2 separate regions of the Homo sapiens genome follow, and region 1 is linked to region 2. The links are contacts of gene promoters, found by promoter capture Hi-C in blood cells and fetal thymus (Javierre and others, 2016). All regions are on one chromosome and are shown on one strand. Each heading gives the region's core, a stretch centred on a gene start or on the middle of the fragment in contact. The rest is flanking DNA. Distances are from core to core; before and after follow the strand shown.

Region 1 (6,477 bases), core at 2,002-4,501, about 13 Mb before region 2:
ACAACTTCAATTTGCAATTTTCTTTTCAATTGCTACCCCCAGCTCTGCCTTTCTTTCAATTCCCAGAATGCACCAAGTTTTTCAGCTTTTGTGCCCTCACACCTGTTCTTCATCCTGCTCTTAGCAGATCCCTCTCAATCTTCAGCTCACGCATGGTCTCCAGGTATTCCCCTTTATTCTCCATCACAATATGGAGATGTTCCATCTTCATGGCACTTGTCTCAGTTTGTAATTACATATGAATTCCACCATTTACTGTGTTTCCCCCACAGGACTCTAGCTTCACAAAGGAATGTGGCTTGTCTGTATTGATTTCCTCCTAAAGTCCAGTGCCAAGTGTCTGGTACCTGCCAGGTGCTCAGGTGATAGCTGGCTTAGTAAATAATCCATTCTGATCTCTCAAAAAAGCAAAATTCCTTGACTTTCTATGTCCCTCAAACATATTTCACATCAAAACACCGTAACAAAAACCAAAACCAAAAAAGTAGAATGGTCTGTAGTGTGTGGGGTTCTAGCTACTGAATAGGAAAATTGCAATAGTAAAAAAATTATCTTGGATGTTTTTAATTTGGGTAATGTTTCCAAGTCCAAGGTTCTTAGAGGCTTACTGAATGGCTTAGTCATCAACCTGTAGGCAATAATTAATGTGACTCCTACAATATCTCACTCCAACAAAGTCAATAAACTTTTGTGGGTGTTTGTATTAGCTAAGTAAAGGGCTTTTTGTTTTCTAACTTATCTTTGATCTTCTTGGTTGGGAGACCAAACAACATATAAAGCTAATGGAAAAAACCTTTCTTGAGGTCAAGAATTATCAAATTGTTGATACTTCTACCTATAAAAAAGACCTCAGAAATCATCTAAACCAATCTCTCATTTTACAGATGAAAAGAAGAAAGCCTAAAAAAATGAATTTATTGCAAGTGATTACACGCATACTGTCTTAGTGCTAAAATACAATCCAGGTTTCAAGGATCATTCACCAGCGTTCCATTGACCACATTACACCAACTTCAAAATAACTCAGTTGTTATGATTTCTTGATGTTCTTAACCAATTTATATTCTGGCATCAATTAATTTAGGATTTCCATGTTTCCATAACAAAAATTTAGTCCAAATTCATGAGCCTGATGTTTAGAACTCACATGTCTCACCATACCTCTTTGTACATGCCAGACTCTGCAATCTGTTTCATGTTTTTCCAACTCTGAGCTTCCACCAGAATGCACAGGCTAACCATATCTGCATATTTACCCTCAACGCCCACTGAAAGACCACATCTTCCATGAAAACTTTCCTCAAATCTGGTCAAAGAAGACAATGGCCTTTTGTATTTCTCCTAGGGATTTTATATTCCTCCTTGTACTGCAGTAGGAGTAACTGCATTAGATATAGGAACCTTGGAACTGGTGCTATATGGTTTTTGCTTTTTAGGTTCTGTCACTACTTGCAATTAATACATATTTAAACGAAAATAAATGCCCCTCTAGGTTACAATGTTCCATAAGGATTTTCTTGAAGGCAATTTCTAAGTGTCTGAAAAAAGCTCGGTTGGAGTAGACATGAACTGGACATACAGGACTTGTATTGCTTTAAGGAAATACATGATGTCAGAACATTTTCAAATTATTGTCTCTTTTCTGAATGCTTTCTCTATTCTTTTAAAAATCATCGTCCATTCTGTATAATTGGCCCAGATCTTTCTTACTGGTAGTGTAAAAACTTACAGGAGTGAAATTTGAAAGCTACAGAAAACATTAGAGAAAACACTAAGATATAGGAAATGTTAGAGAAGCATCATGCAAATACTTGCCTAGAAACATTTTGTTGGAATTCAGATTCTTTTTCAATTTTCAGAAGTAAATGTAGATAAAAAGGTCAAAAAACAAAAATCCATCTTATCGTTTATCAGTTCAAAGTAAATGAAAGGAGTTTACCATCTGACAGTCCTTTGGAAAACTATTATGCAATTACTCTCGGCCCAGATTTCATCTAGAACATTCAAGTCCATTGTAATCTTACCACATCCATACACGTTTTGGGTTAAGCCACCTCCAAATGGAATAGCTCAATAACTAATACACTCAAGAGAGATTATTTTTTCTCTCTTTTTAAAAAGAGTTGCTTAAAAAAAACAAATTCAGGGGGCAGCTCACGCCTGTAATCCCAGCACTTTGGGAGGATGAGGCGGGCGAATCACGAGGTCAGGAGTTTGAGACCAGCCTGGCCAATATGATGAAACTCCATCTCTACTAAAAATACAAAAAGTAGGCAGACATGGTGGCATGTACCTGTAGTCCCAGCTACTGGGGAGGCTGAGGCAGAAGAATCACTTGAACCCGGGAGGCAGAGGTTGCAGTGAGCCGAGATCATGCCAGTGCACTCCAGCCTGGGTGACAGAGAGAGACTCCGTCTCAAATAAATAAATAAATAAAAATAAATAAAAATTCAGAATAGGGAAGCAACTCCTCCTTATGACGAGTACCTTTCGGCACTTATATGGGCTTGCTTTTGCATTGATGGCACCACTTTCATTCAAAAAAAAAAGTTCGCTTGCACAATCTGCAAAGATCTGTTTGGCTTGGTTTCATGTTCTAAAAGTATGGTTTTAGATTAAATGAAAAATAATACTTCTGAAAAATAAGCGGTTATAAGGTTTTTAAGTTTTCTTTATGTTGGTGTAAACTTATAAAGCCCTTCCTATGAAAACTGTCCCCCAAATCACATTACTTGGTCGTCCTCGAGGAACGATTTTGAATGAAAAGCACATAAAGTGCTGTAGCATGGAGACGAGAGACAAATAACTATGCCCTTCTCCCAAAATAAGTTATGACTTACTAGGGGAGGAAAAGGAGCAAAGAGTATAAAGCCCGGTCCTCTGCGGGAAGTACCCGGAGGCCTGCCCCGGAACGCGCTCCTTTCGGCTACGAGATGAGGGGCACGCAGACGGACGCGCCCCTCGGTGAGTGTGCGTGTATCAGTGCATGATTCCTTTACTCCGCCCACAGGGTCTGGGCATCCGTCATTACCTACGGCTGCCTGGTCAGCAAACAACAGCAGATCCGACAACCGCCAGTCACCTCGACGGTCCACGCCCACCGCTAGCCTCCAGTTTCCCGCAGACCGGAAGCCCTTTTGCCCCGGCTCGCAGGTCCACGTCTTATTGACAGCAGGAACCGGAAGCTCTTCTGCCCCGATCGCCTGCGCGCGGCCTCGTTGGCCGCACAGGCGCAGTGGAGCTCGGGCGGAGTTGTGGGAGTGGAGGAGGAAGAGGCGGTAGGGGGTACGGGGGCTGGTCCCAGAAGATGGCGGAGGCGGGGGTGAGTTGGGGGTCTCCCGGCGAAGCGCGGGTGACGTGGTGCTGAGGAAAGCGGCCTGAGGAGGAGGGTGGCCCTTGGGAAGAAGAACTACTTGTGTTTTTGCAGCCTGGGAACCCTGGTGGCAGGTGCGGGGAGCCAGGACCACTGATGGGCCTGCAGGGCAAGGGGCTCCGCTTACCTGAGAGGGGTCCGCAAGGTCCAGAAGGGGACTGCGGGATCGGGGAGGGGGTATAGGAGGGGTCGAGGCTCCCCGGACAGTGGATGAGTGTCTGAGCGGGAAGAAGGCTGGAGGACGGCGAGAAGGGCGACCCAATGGTCTGATGAGGTGGAGGTCAGCGAGCTGTCAAGCATAGAGCTGCCAGGACTTGGGGGCTTGTAGCCTGGGAGAGAAGACTCAGACTTGGGCGGGGATTGGATCCAAAGAAGACAGGTTGTCGTAGTAAGTTTATAATCCACTAAGGAGATAGGGCATTGGGTTGAGGAGTAATACTCTGGCATTTTTGACTGGAATTGGTTACCTATGGAATAGGTGTTTCGGTAAAGCCAAATAATTCTTGCCAGGGCCTAGAAGTGGATTTGATGATAATTACTAGATTTTAGGGTTGCTTAGTGGGGATTGGCAATATGGAGAAGGAAAGCAGTGTGGATTATGGGAGTGGGCGCGGGCAATGGCGCTAACACTTAAGTGATAATGACCCATGTCCAGTTAACGTTGGAAAAAGTTGTTAAAGTATGATATTAGCTAGATGCTCTAGGAAAATATACCATGAAGAACTTGCTGTTTTGTAGGATTGATGAAGAAATGCTTTAAAAAGGAATGGTTAGGCTTGGCAGCTGGGCCACTGAAACTGTTTGGTATCAGTATTGCGGTGGAGCTGAGGACTGCAGGGGAATGCGTGCTCCCGTCCTGGTGCAGAAAAAATAAAAGCAGCCAGACAGTAGCTAGATGGTGTTTTGTAACTTTTGGGTTTGGCCCTGATAGTGAACCACTGAATGAAGATGGATGAAGGGAATGCTACTAATGGGGGCCCCAAAGAAAACAAAAATCAGACGTGTGCTCTTCCTGTTTTCTGTCTTTCATTCTTTCCCTGTACTTTGTGCTCAGTACTGTGTTTTGTCATTGTGTTATGTCGTAGTTCTCAGTTCACATCTGCTGTACAGTGACCAAGCTGTGAATCATGTCCACTCGGGAAAGAGGTTGATTCTGTTTAACTGACAACTGTTGCTTTTGCAGATGGTCACACGGAAAAGGAAAGAATAAAATGCAGTTCAGTAGTTTAAAGAGTTTTCTTTGTTCTCAGAAACTTATCTCGAAACGATGGAGTAACTTTTTTAGGCACTGAGATGTGACATTTAAAACCTGTAAGGGGCTGTAAATGCAGCTAACTTACTGGTTTCTATGTTTGGGTTTTAATGTTGAGAGGAAAGAGTTGCAGTGTTTATAAGGCAAATATTGCTTTTCTTCCTAGAAATTTTTAACGTCTCTAGCCCATGATACATGTAGATGTGTTTTTATTTAGGGAGCATTAAACTGTTGCATTGATTTAAGTCTGTTTTTTTCTAATGTTAGTGCTTATTCTATTTCAAGAATGCTATTCTAATTAAGAGAGCATATGATGAAAAATATGTGAGGTAGTAATTTAACTTTATTATTTAGTAGCTTACGTGACCTAAGCACCTGAAGAAACAGGGTTATCTGAGGGAGTAAAAATACTTCTTTTACGGCTAATCATTGGAAGAGGAATGGTCTTGTCATTTGGTTTTAGGGGGTGTTGCAGTTGTTACAATGCAACAGGTTCTTAAGGTTACTAGAAGATTTTGTATGTGTGTTTGTTTTCAAATGCTTGTTGCCTCTAAGTTGTTTCAGTGGCCAACATGAACCTTGATTTTTATTCACGAAGCTCATAATCACTTATAACTCTTTTTTAACCTGAAAGTAATAATATCAATCCATTAATAGGCAGCCATACACCTGGAATAATGTTTTTCCAGTATTGATGATTCATCATTGATCTATGCAAATTATTTCAACTTTTTTTCTTTTTGTTTAGTATTGTACTTTCCAGAAATTTTAGGCCAGGGCTCAGCGTAGAATTTTTCAAGTCTGGTGGAAAGTTTTTCTTTGTGAATTGTTGAAAACATTATTTTGGTATTAATAGTAGTTTACCAACATGATTTTAAAAACGGTTTCTTGTGTGGCACTTAAATTGTTTTGTACCATGTTTGTGAATGGAAGCAGTGTGGTGAAGCAGGAAGAACTCCGGACATGGGGTCAGAGTGGGTGAGCCTAGTCCTGGTGCTACCTGGTAACAGTTCTGTGATCTTGGAAAGTTACTTAACCTATTTTATTTTGTAAAATGGAAACTAACAACACCTGCCTATTTACCAAGATTGTTTTCGAGAATCTATTGACATATTGTCCTTTAAACAGTATCTTTATACCAGAGACTTTTTCCCTGGTCAGCAAATTATTTGTCAAGTAATCTAAATTTTTCAAATATAGATTTTTAAAAAAAATTTTGGAGCATCAAGTTTATCATTAATGTAAGACTAATATTTAAAGATATAGATCCACTTTGTTTTAAGAAAATGGTATCAGTACAAAATCAGAAAAACAAACTTCAAAGTAAACTAAGGGAGCTTACTTTCCCTTGAAAATAACCCACTCCTCTGACTCCTCTAGTGTGCAACTGATATTATAAACATGCTTTTAAAGGAATTTCATTGTTGCATGGTAGGGGGTGAAATGGTTTTGTGGACGCCTCTATCCCTTTGATGAGTCTGGTCATTTTCTGGCATTCACTATACACGTTTGTGGTAATAAGAACTGATGGTACTGTCTTAATCTTGTTAATCCAGTTGACTACTTTGCATGTCATTGGCCTTGCTAATAGAGTGAGAGAATTGTTAGATTACTGATTCTTTACTTTGTTTGGATCATGGACTTTTTTGAGTACTTTATATAAATTATGGAACTTTCATCCCAGAAAAAAATGCATATATATACAACTTTTTTGTTTTGTTTCGCATGGGGGTCTCATACCCCTTGGAATAGATGATTTCCCAGTTCCCTGCTATTTCTTAAAGCTTTTATTTTTTGTCACCAGTAATTATATACTATTGTATTATGATGTAGTTACAAAATTAGCTTTTTG
Region 2 (6,731 bases), core at 1,207-3,706:
ACAGGCGTGAGCCACCACACCTGGACAAAAATATATTTTTAAAAAAGAAGCTGGATACGGTGGCTCACGCCTGTAATCCCAGCACTCTGGGAGGCCAACGCGGGTGGATCACTTGAGGTCAAGAGTTCGAGACCAGCCTGGCCAACATAGTGAGATGAGACCCCATCTCTACTAAAAACACAAACATTACCTGGGCAGGGTGGCATGTGCCTGTAATCTCAGCTACTCCGGAGGCTGAGGCAGGAGAATCACTTGAACCCGGGAGGAGGAGGTTGCAGTGAGCCGAGATCACTCCACTGCACTCCAGCCTGGGCGACAGAACAAAACTGTCTCAAAAAAATAAATGAATAAATAAAAAATAAAGCATATAGGCCGAGCGCGGTGGTGTCTCCAGCACTTTGGGAGGCCGACGTAGGTGGACCACCTGAGGTCAGGAGTTCAAGACCAGACTGGGCAACATGGTAAAACCCCGTCTCTACTAAAAATACAAAAAATTAGCTGGGCGCAGTGGTGTGTGCCTGTAATCCCAGCTACTCGGGAGGCTGAGACAGGAGAATCCCTTGAGCCCGGGAGGCGGAGGTTGCAGTGAGCCGAGATCACGCCATTGCACTCCAGCCTGGGCGACAGAGCGACACTCCGTCTCACAAAAAAAAAAAAGAAAAAAGAAAAGAAGTTCTCTCCCCCAAACTTTACCTTCATTACCAAGGTTTGGGTTTGCATTTTACTGGGAGGAATTCATGTATTTCTGCACAGTACAATCAGACAGACTTAACAGACTGGACACAAGGCATGAAAAAACTATTACTCTATTACGCTGGTGTACTGTTCTTTTAAAATTGTGCTCGGCCAGGCGCGGTGGCTCACGTCTGTAATCCCAGCACTTTGGAAGGTCGAGGCGGGCGGATCACGAGGTCAGGAGATTGGGACCATCCTGGCTAACACGGTGAAACCTCGTCTCTACTAAAAAAAAAAAAAAACAAATACAAAAAAATTAGCCAGGCGTGGTGGCGGGCGCCTGCAGTCCCAGCTACTTGGGAGGCTGAGGCAAAAGACTGACGTGAATCCGGGAGGCGGAGCTTGCAGTGAGCCGAGATGGCGCCACTGCACTCCAGTCTGGGAAACAGAGGGAGACTCCGTCTCAAAAAAAAAAAAAAAAGTGCTCAATTGATCCAGGAAAAGAAACTGTCTAAGACAACTTGGGTATAATTTCCCTTTAAACTACGGAACTCCACCAAAGTAAGCCTGCTTTGTAAAGACAAAGAGAAGCAAGATCTTCACAATTTCTGCAACACTAGCTTCAAAATTAGAATAGCCTTACACTGCTCAAATCTTGGCTGTCAAAGCAAAAATAACCCACTCCTTCATCTACAAGAGCTTAAAAATGTGTCCTGTTTTTGCCAAAACCAAAAAGTTTTATTTAATCTAGAATCTTTCATCCATAGTATTTGAGAAAAGTGATCTCAAATTACACAAGGATGACCTGAAAGTTTAAGGAGTGGAAACTATATAAACCTTTTTATTTATAAAGCTTCCTTGCATGCGAAAACACTGCAAAATATTCTTGTTTGACTTTAATGATTAAACATTAACTCAAACAGCCCATGAGATGCACACTTCATGTTCACATACACTATAAAACAGAAATACCCTTATTTGTGGACGTCGTAAAGGCGCACTGCACTCTTTTTTCAAAGTTAACCCAGGCTAGGCCACGAAACGTCCTTTCTGAAGGAAATCTTAAAAATCTGTAATTTAAATCGTGCCTTTTCAAGCTGGAAGGAGAACGCTCAGATTCCGCCAAGCAAAAAAATAAAAATAAAAATTATCTTTACTTCGTGGGTAGACAAAGTGAGCAGTTACACATTGGAAATGACTATTGTCACAAAGCTCTGCCCCCGGGTTTCACGCTCGCATTCCTGACGGCTGTGACCCCGACCTTTAGGAGAACGCCCCGCGCCGCGAAGCCACCTCGGCCACCTAGGCGGCAGGCCCGCGCCGCCCGGACCGCACCTGCACGCGTACGTGTCCGGCCGAGCTCCGCCCCCGGCCCCCGCCCGGCCTTGCCCGCGGCACAAAGCGCAGCCCAGGCCGGTCCAGACGCCCAGCGACCCCGAGCCGCGGGCCGACCTTGGCGCCGCCCCGAGCCGGCCGCACAAAGCGCCGCACTTCCGGCCTGGACGCGCAGTCGCCCGCTGCCCGCCCCCACTCACCGCGCCGCGGCGGCGACCTGGGCCTCAGTGACCAGCGCACGCCGGCCCGCGGCGGGCTTGGCCGTGGGGCGAAACAAGGGGGGCGTGCCGAGGAGACCTGCTACGATAAGAGGCTGACCCTCCGAGCCCCGCGTCTCCGCCGCCTCCCGGACGCCGCGCTCCCGCTCGCTCGGCTCCGCTTGGCCCGGCCCGCCTCTCCGCAGCCCGCGCTCCCCGCCGACGCTGCGCAGCCACCGGAGCCGCCGACCTCACTTCCGCCTGAGCGCGCCGCGACGGGGGCGCGCCGGGCACGTGACTGCGCAGCGTGCTCGCTCCCGCCGGCGCCCTCGAGACGCCCGGATGGACGAGCGCGAGCGCGAGCGCGGAGTGGGCCGGTCCCAGTTGGCGAAAGGGCCGGGTGTAGCTGTAGTTTTTTTATTAACTGTCTGTGAAAAAAGTATTTAATTTATATTTTGAGATAGTCCCGCGCCGCAGAAACCTTTGTGTGTGCCCAGACGCCAGGGCGCGGATCCTCAGGCCGCACCCGGGAGTCGAGCACACCCCGGGTGACCGCCACTACGGGGTCGGAGCGGGGCGGAGCTCAGCTCACAGATTCTTTGCCAGTGCGGAGGCTGCGGGCGCCCGCTCAGGAGTGCAGATTTTAGAGAATGCAAGTCAGCGTTTCAAGTGTAGAAGTGCGGGATCATTTCTATAGACAAGAGTTCAGGGAAGTGTACTAGAATGTTAGGGGGTTTTTTGGTTTTTTTTTGAGACGGAGTTTCGCTCTTGTCACCCAGGCTGGAGTACAATGGCGCGATCTTGGCTCACTGCAACCTCCGCTTCCCGGGTTCAAGCGATTCTCCTGCCTCAGCCTCCTGAGTAATTGAGATTCCAGGCGCCCGCCACCACACCTGGCTAATTTTTGTGTTAGTAGAGACGGGGGTTTCACCATGTTGGTCAGGCTAGTCTCGAACCCGTGACCTCAGGTGATCCACCCACGTTGGCCTCCCAAAGTGCTGGGATTACAAGTGTGAGCCACCGCACCCGGCCAAATGTTAGTATTTTTATGTAAGGCTTAGTGTATAGTTACAATGATTTGGTTAGTTCAGGGTGTCTCTCTGGGGGAGGTATGTTTATTATTTCGTATTAAAGAGGTGCGTGTCTTGGTGTTTGTGTTTGGGGTGTCGTCTGGTCTGAGCTAGGTACAGGACGACAAAGGAGGGAGTTATTGCAATAAAGATTAGTGATGGAAGGGAGGAGGCCTGGCTCTGGTCTTTTTTCAGTCGTTTATGAAATAAAAACAGATGGGCGCGGTGTCTCACGCCTTTAATCCCGGCACTTATAGGAGGCCGAGGCGGGCAGATCACGAGGTCAGGAGTTCAAGACCAGCCTGGCCAACATAGTGAAACCGCGTCTCTACTAAAAATACAAAAATTAGCTGCGCGTGGTGGCGCACATCTGTAACCTTAGCTGCTCTGGAGGCTGAGGCAGGAGAATCTCTTGAACCCGGGAGGCGGAGGTTGCAGTGAGCCGAGATCGGGCCACTGCACTCCAGCCTGGGCGACAGAGGAAGACTCCGTCTCAAAAAAAAAAATAAAAATAAAATATAAATGTGATAAAAGGACAAGAAGAAAACATGGGGAAATTCCTTTTTAGTATTGGAGTAAAGAAGGCTTTTCTACATTATTACTTGAAATCCAGAAGTCATGACTATGAAAAGCTTTGGTCGGCAAAAAGCACCATAAGCAAAGTCAAAAGATAAATGATTAACAAGGAAGAAATAGTCCCAACACATGTAATAGACAAAGCTAATCTCTTTAATATTCCAAAAGCTTCCAGAAGTCAACAATAAAAAGCCCTACCACCCAATAGAAAAAGGAGAGTTCACAGCAAAGGACTAAGTCTGGCTGTTAGTCATATGAAAAATATCCAATCTCACTTCTATAAAGAAAAATGCAAGTTAAAACTCTTTGAGGTAGCAGTTTTCACTGTGATTGGCAAACATCCAAAAAATTGACAATGCTATTGGTAAGGCTGCCAGGAAGCTCGCACTCTCAGACATTGCTGGATGGGAAAGGGGATCGTCTGATGATGTGTGTCAAAATAAACGCACAAACAATGTTTCATTCAACAGCTGCACTTCTGGGAGTTTGCCTACAGAGATACTTATAGATGTGTGAAATAAAATGAGTTCACACCTATTAATTGCAGCATTGTGCATAGTAGCAAAATACTGGAAACAAACCCTAGTGTCCACACCTAGGGAAATGACTGAGTAAACTCTGGTTCATCATGCAGTGAAATAGCCTATAACTTGAAAAAGAAATGGGGAAACTTTGTATGTACTGAAATGAAAATATCTCCAAGGTAGACTATTCAATGAAAAAAAACCAAGGTATGGAACTCTGTGTAAGAATAGTATGTAAAGCCGGGCACGGTGGCTCACGCCTGTAATCCCAGCACTTTAGGAGGCCGAGGCGGGTGGATCACCTGAGGTCAGGAGTTCGAGACCAGCCTCAACATGGGAAAACCCCGTCTCTACTAAAAATACAAAATTAGCCAGGCGTGGTGGTACATGCCTGTAATCCCAGCTACTCGGGAGGCTGAGGCAGAAGAATTGCTTGAACCCAGGAGGCGGAGGTTGCAGTGAGCCGAGATTGCCCCATTGCACTCCAGCCTGGGCAACGAGAGCGAAACTCCGTCTCAAAAAATAAAAAATAAAAAAAAAGAATGTTATGTAAAAAGGTAGAAATGAAAAAATATATCTGTATTTACTTACATTTACAGAATATTGTCATATTTACAGAAATACCAAAAAATAGCCAAAAATCTACCAGCAATGATTATCTGTGGTGAGACTGGGAAAAAGTGGGCTCTGAGCAGATAGGGGACAGAGGTGAGAAAGATAATTTTCATGTTTGGGTTTTTTTTTTTTTTTAATTTTTGAACCACGTGAATACATTACCTACTCTAAAATTAAATTAAAAATAAATAAAAATCTTGGCCAGGCGTGGTGGCTCACGCCTGTAATCCCAGCACTTTGGGAGATTGAGGCAGGCTGATCACGAGGTCAGGAGATCAAGACCATCCTGGCTAACATGGTGAACCCGTCTCTACTAAAAATACAAAAAAATTAGCCAGGCATGATGGCACGTGCCTATAGTCCCAGCTACTGGGGAGGCTGAGGCAGGAGAATTGCTTGAACCCGGGAGGCGGAGGTTGCAGTGAGCCGAGATCACACTACTGCACTCCAGCCTGGGTGACAGAGCGAGACTCTGGCTCAAAAAAAAAAAAAAAGAGATTGTGACCATCCTGGCCAACATGGTGAAACCTCGTCTCTACTAAAAATACAAAAATTAGCTGGACGTGGTGGGGCGCGCCTGCAGTCCCAGCTACTGGGGAGGCTGAGGCAGGAGAATCGCTTAAACCCAGGAGGCGGAGGTTGCAGTGAGCCAAGATCGCACCACTGCACTCCAGCCTGGCAACAGAGTGGGACTCCGTCTCAAAAAATAGTAATAATTTAAAATATATATATTTCTGATGGGAGTACAAAATGGTATAATCACTTTGGATAAAGTTCTAATCATTTCTTGTGAAACTAAACATCTGGCCTGGTGTGGTTGCTGAAGCCTGTAATCCTAGCAGTTTGGGAGGCTGAGGCATGCAGATCACTTGAGGTCAGGAGTTCCAGACCAGCCTGGCCAACATGGTGAAACCTCGTCTCTACTAAAAATACAAAAATTAGCCGGGCGTTGTGGTGGGCACCTGTAATCCCAGTTACTCAGGAGGCTGAGGCAGGAGCATTGCTTGAACCCGGGAGGCAGAGGTTGTAGTGAGCCGAGATCACGCCACTGCACTCCAGCCTGGGTGACAGAGGGAGACTGTCTCAAAACAAATAAATAAACAAACAAGCAAACATCAGCCAGGTGCAGTGTCTTATGCCTGTAAGCCTATAATTCCAACACTTTGGGAGACCAAGGCGGGTGGATTGTTTGAGCCCAAGAGTTCAAGATCACCTTGGGTAATATATCAAGAGCCCCTTTTCTACAAAAAAAAAAAAAAAAAAAAAAAAACATATATATACACACACACACACACACACACACACACACACACACAGGCCGGGTGCGGCGGCTCACAACTATAATTCCAGCACTTTGGGAGGCGGAGGTGGGTGGATCACCTGAGGTCAGGAGTTCAAGACCAGCCTGGCCAACATGGTGAAACCCGTCTCTACTAATAATACAAAAATTAGCCAGGCATGGTGGCGGGTGCCTGTAGTCCCCACTACTGGGGAGGCTGAGGCAGAAGAATCGCTCGAATCTGAGAGGGAGAGGTTGCAGTGAGCCGAGATCACACCACTGCACTCTAGCCTGGGCGACACAGAACAGCAAGACTCCGTCTCAAAAAAACAAAACAAAAATTAGCTGGATGTGGTGGTGCACTCTGCAGTCCCAGCTACTGGCAGGGGGCAAGTAAGGTGAGAGGATTGTCAAGCCCAGGGGTTGGAGACTGCAGTGAGCTATGATGATGCTACTGCAC

What was found. Contacts are between HindIII fragments. The CHiCAGO score rates a contact against its expected background, and 5 or more counts as called.
Region 1: a contact is called between the fragment with the promoter of INSIG2 here and the fragment with the promoter of FAM168B in region 2, in 3 of 17 cell types (fetal thymus, total B cells and neutrophils). The highest score is 11.6, in fetal thymus.

Annotation. Positions count from the first base shown.
Region 1 is chr2:118,085,220-118,091,696 of GRCh38, forward strand. It overlaps INSIG2 (insulin induced gene 2), which reads left to right and starts at 3,252. Exons shown (of 6, transcript NM_016133.4): 1 at 3,252-3,322. It overlaps LOC107985940 (a long non-coding RNA gene), which reads right to left and starts at 3,212. Exons shown (of 3, transcript XR_001739662.3): 1 at 3,032-3,212. RefSeq lists enhancers at 2,957-3,006, 3,017-3,206. The HindIII fragment of the contact is 7,859 bases long and covers 1-6,407 here.
Region 2 is chr2:131,091,004-131,097,734 of GRCh38, forward strand. FAM168B (family with sequence similarity 168 member B) reads right to left here and starts at 2,457. Exons shown (of 7, transcript NM_001009993.4): 1 at 2,211-2,457. RefSeq lists a silencer at 1,911-2,630. The HindIII fragment of the contact is 2,381 bases long and covers 1,527-3,907 here.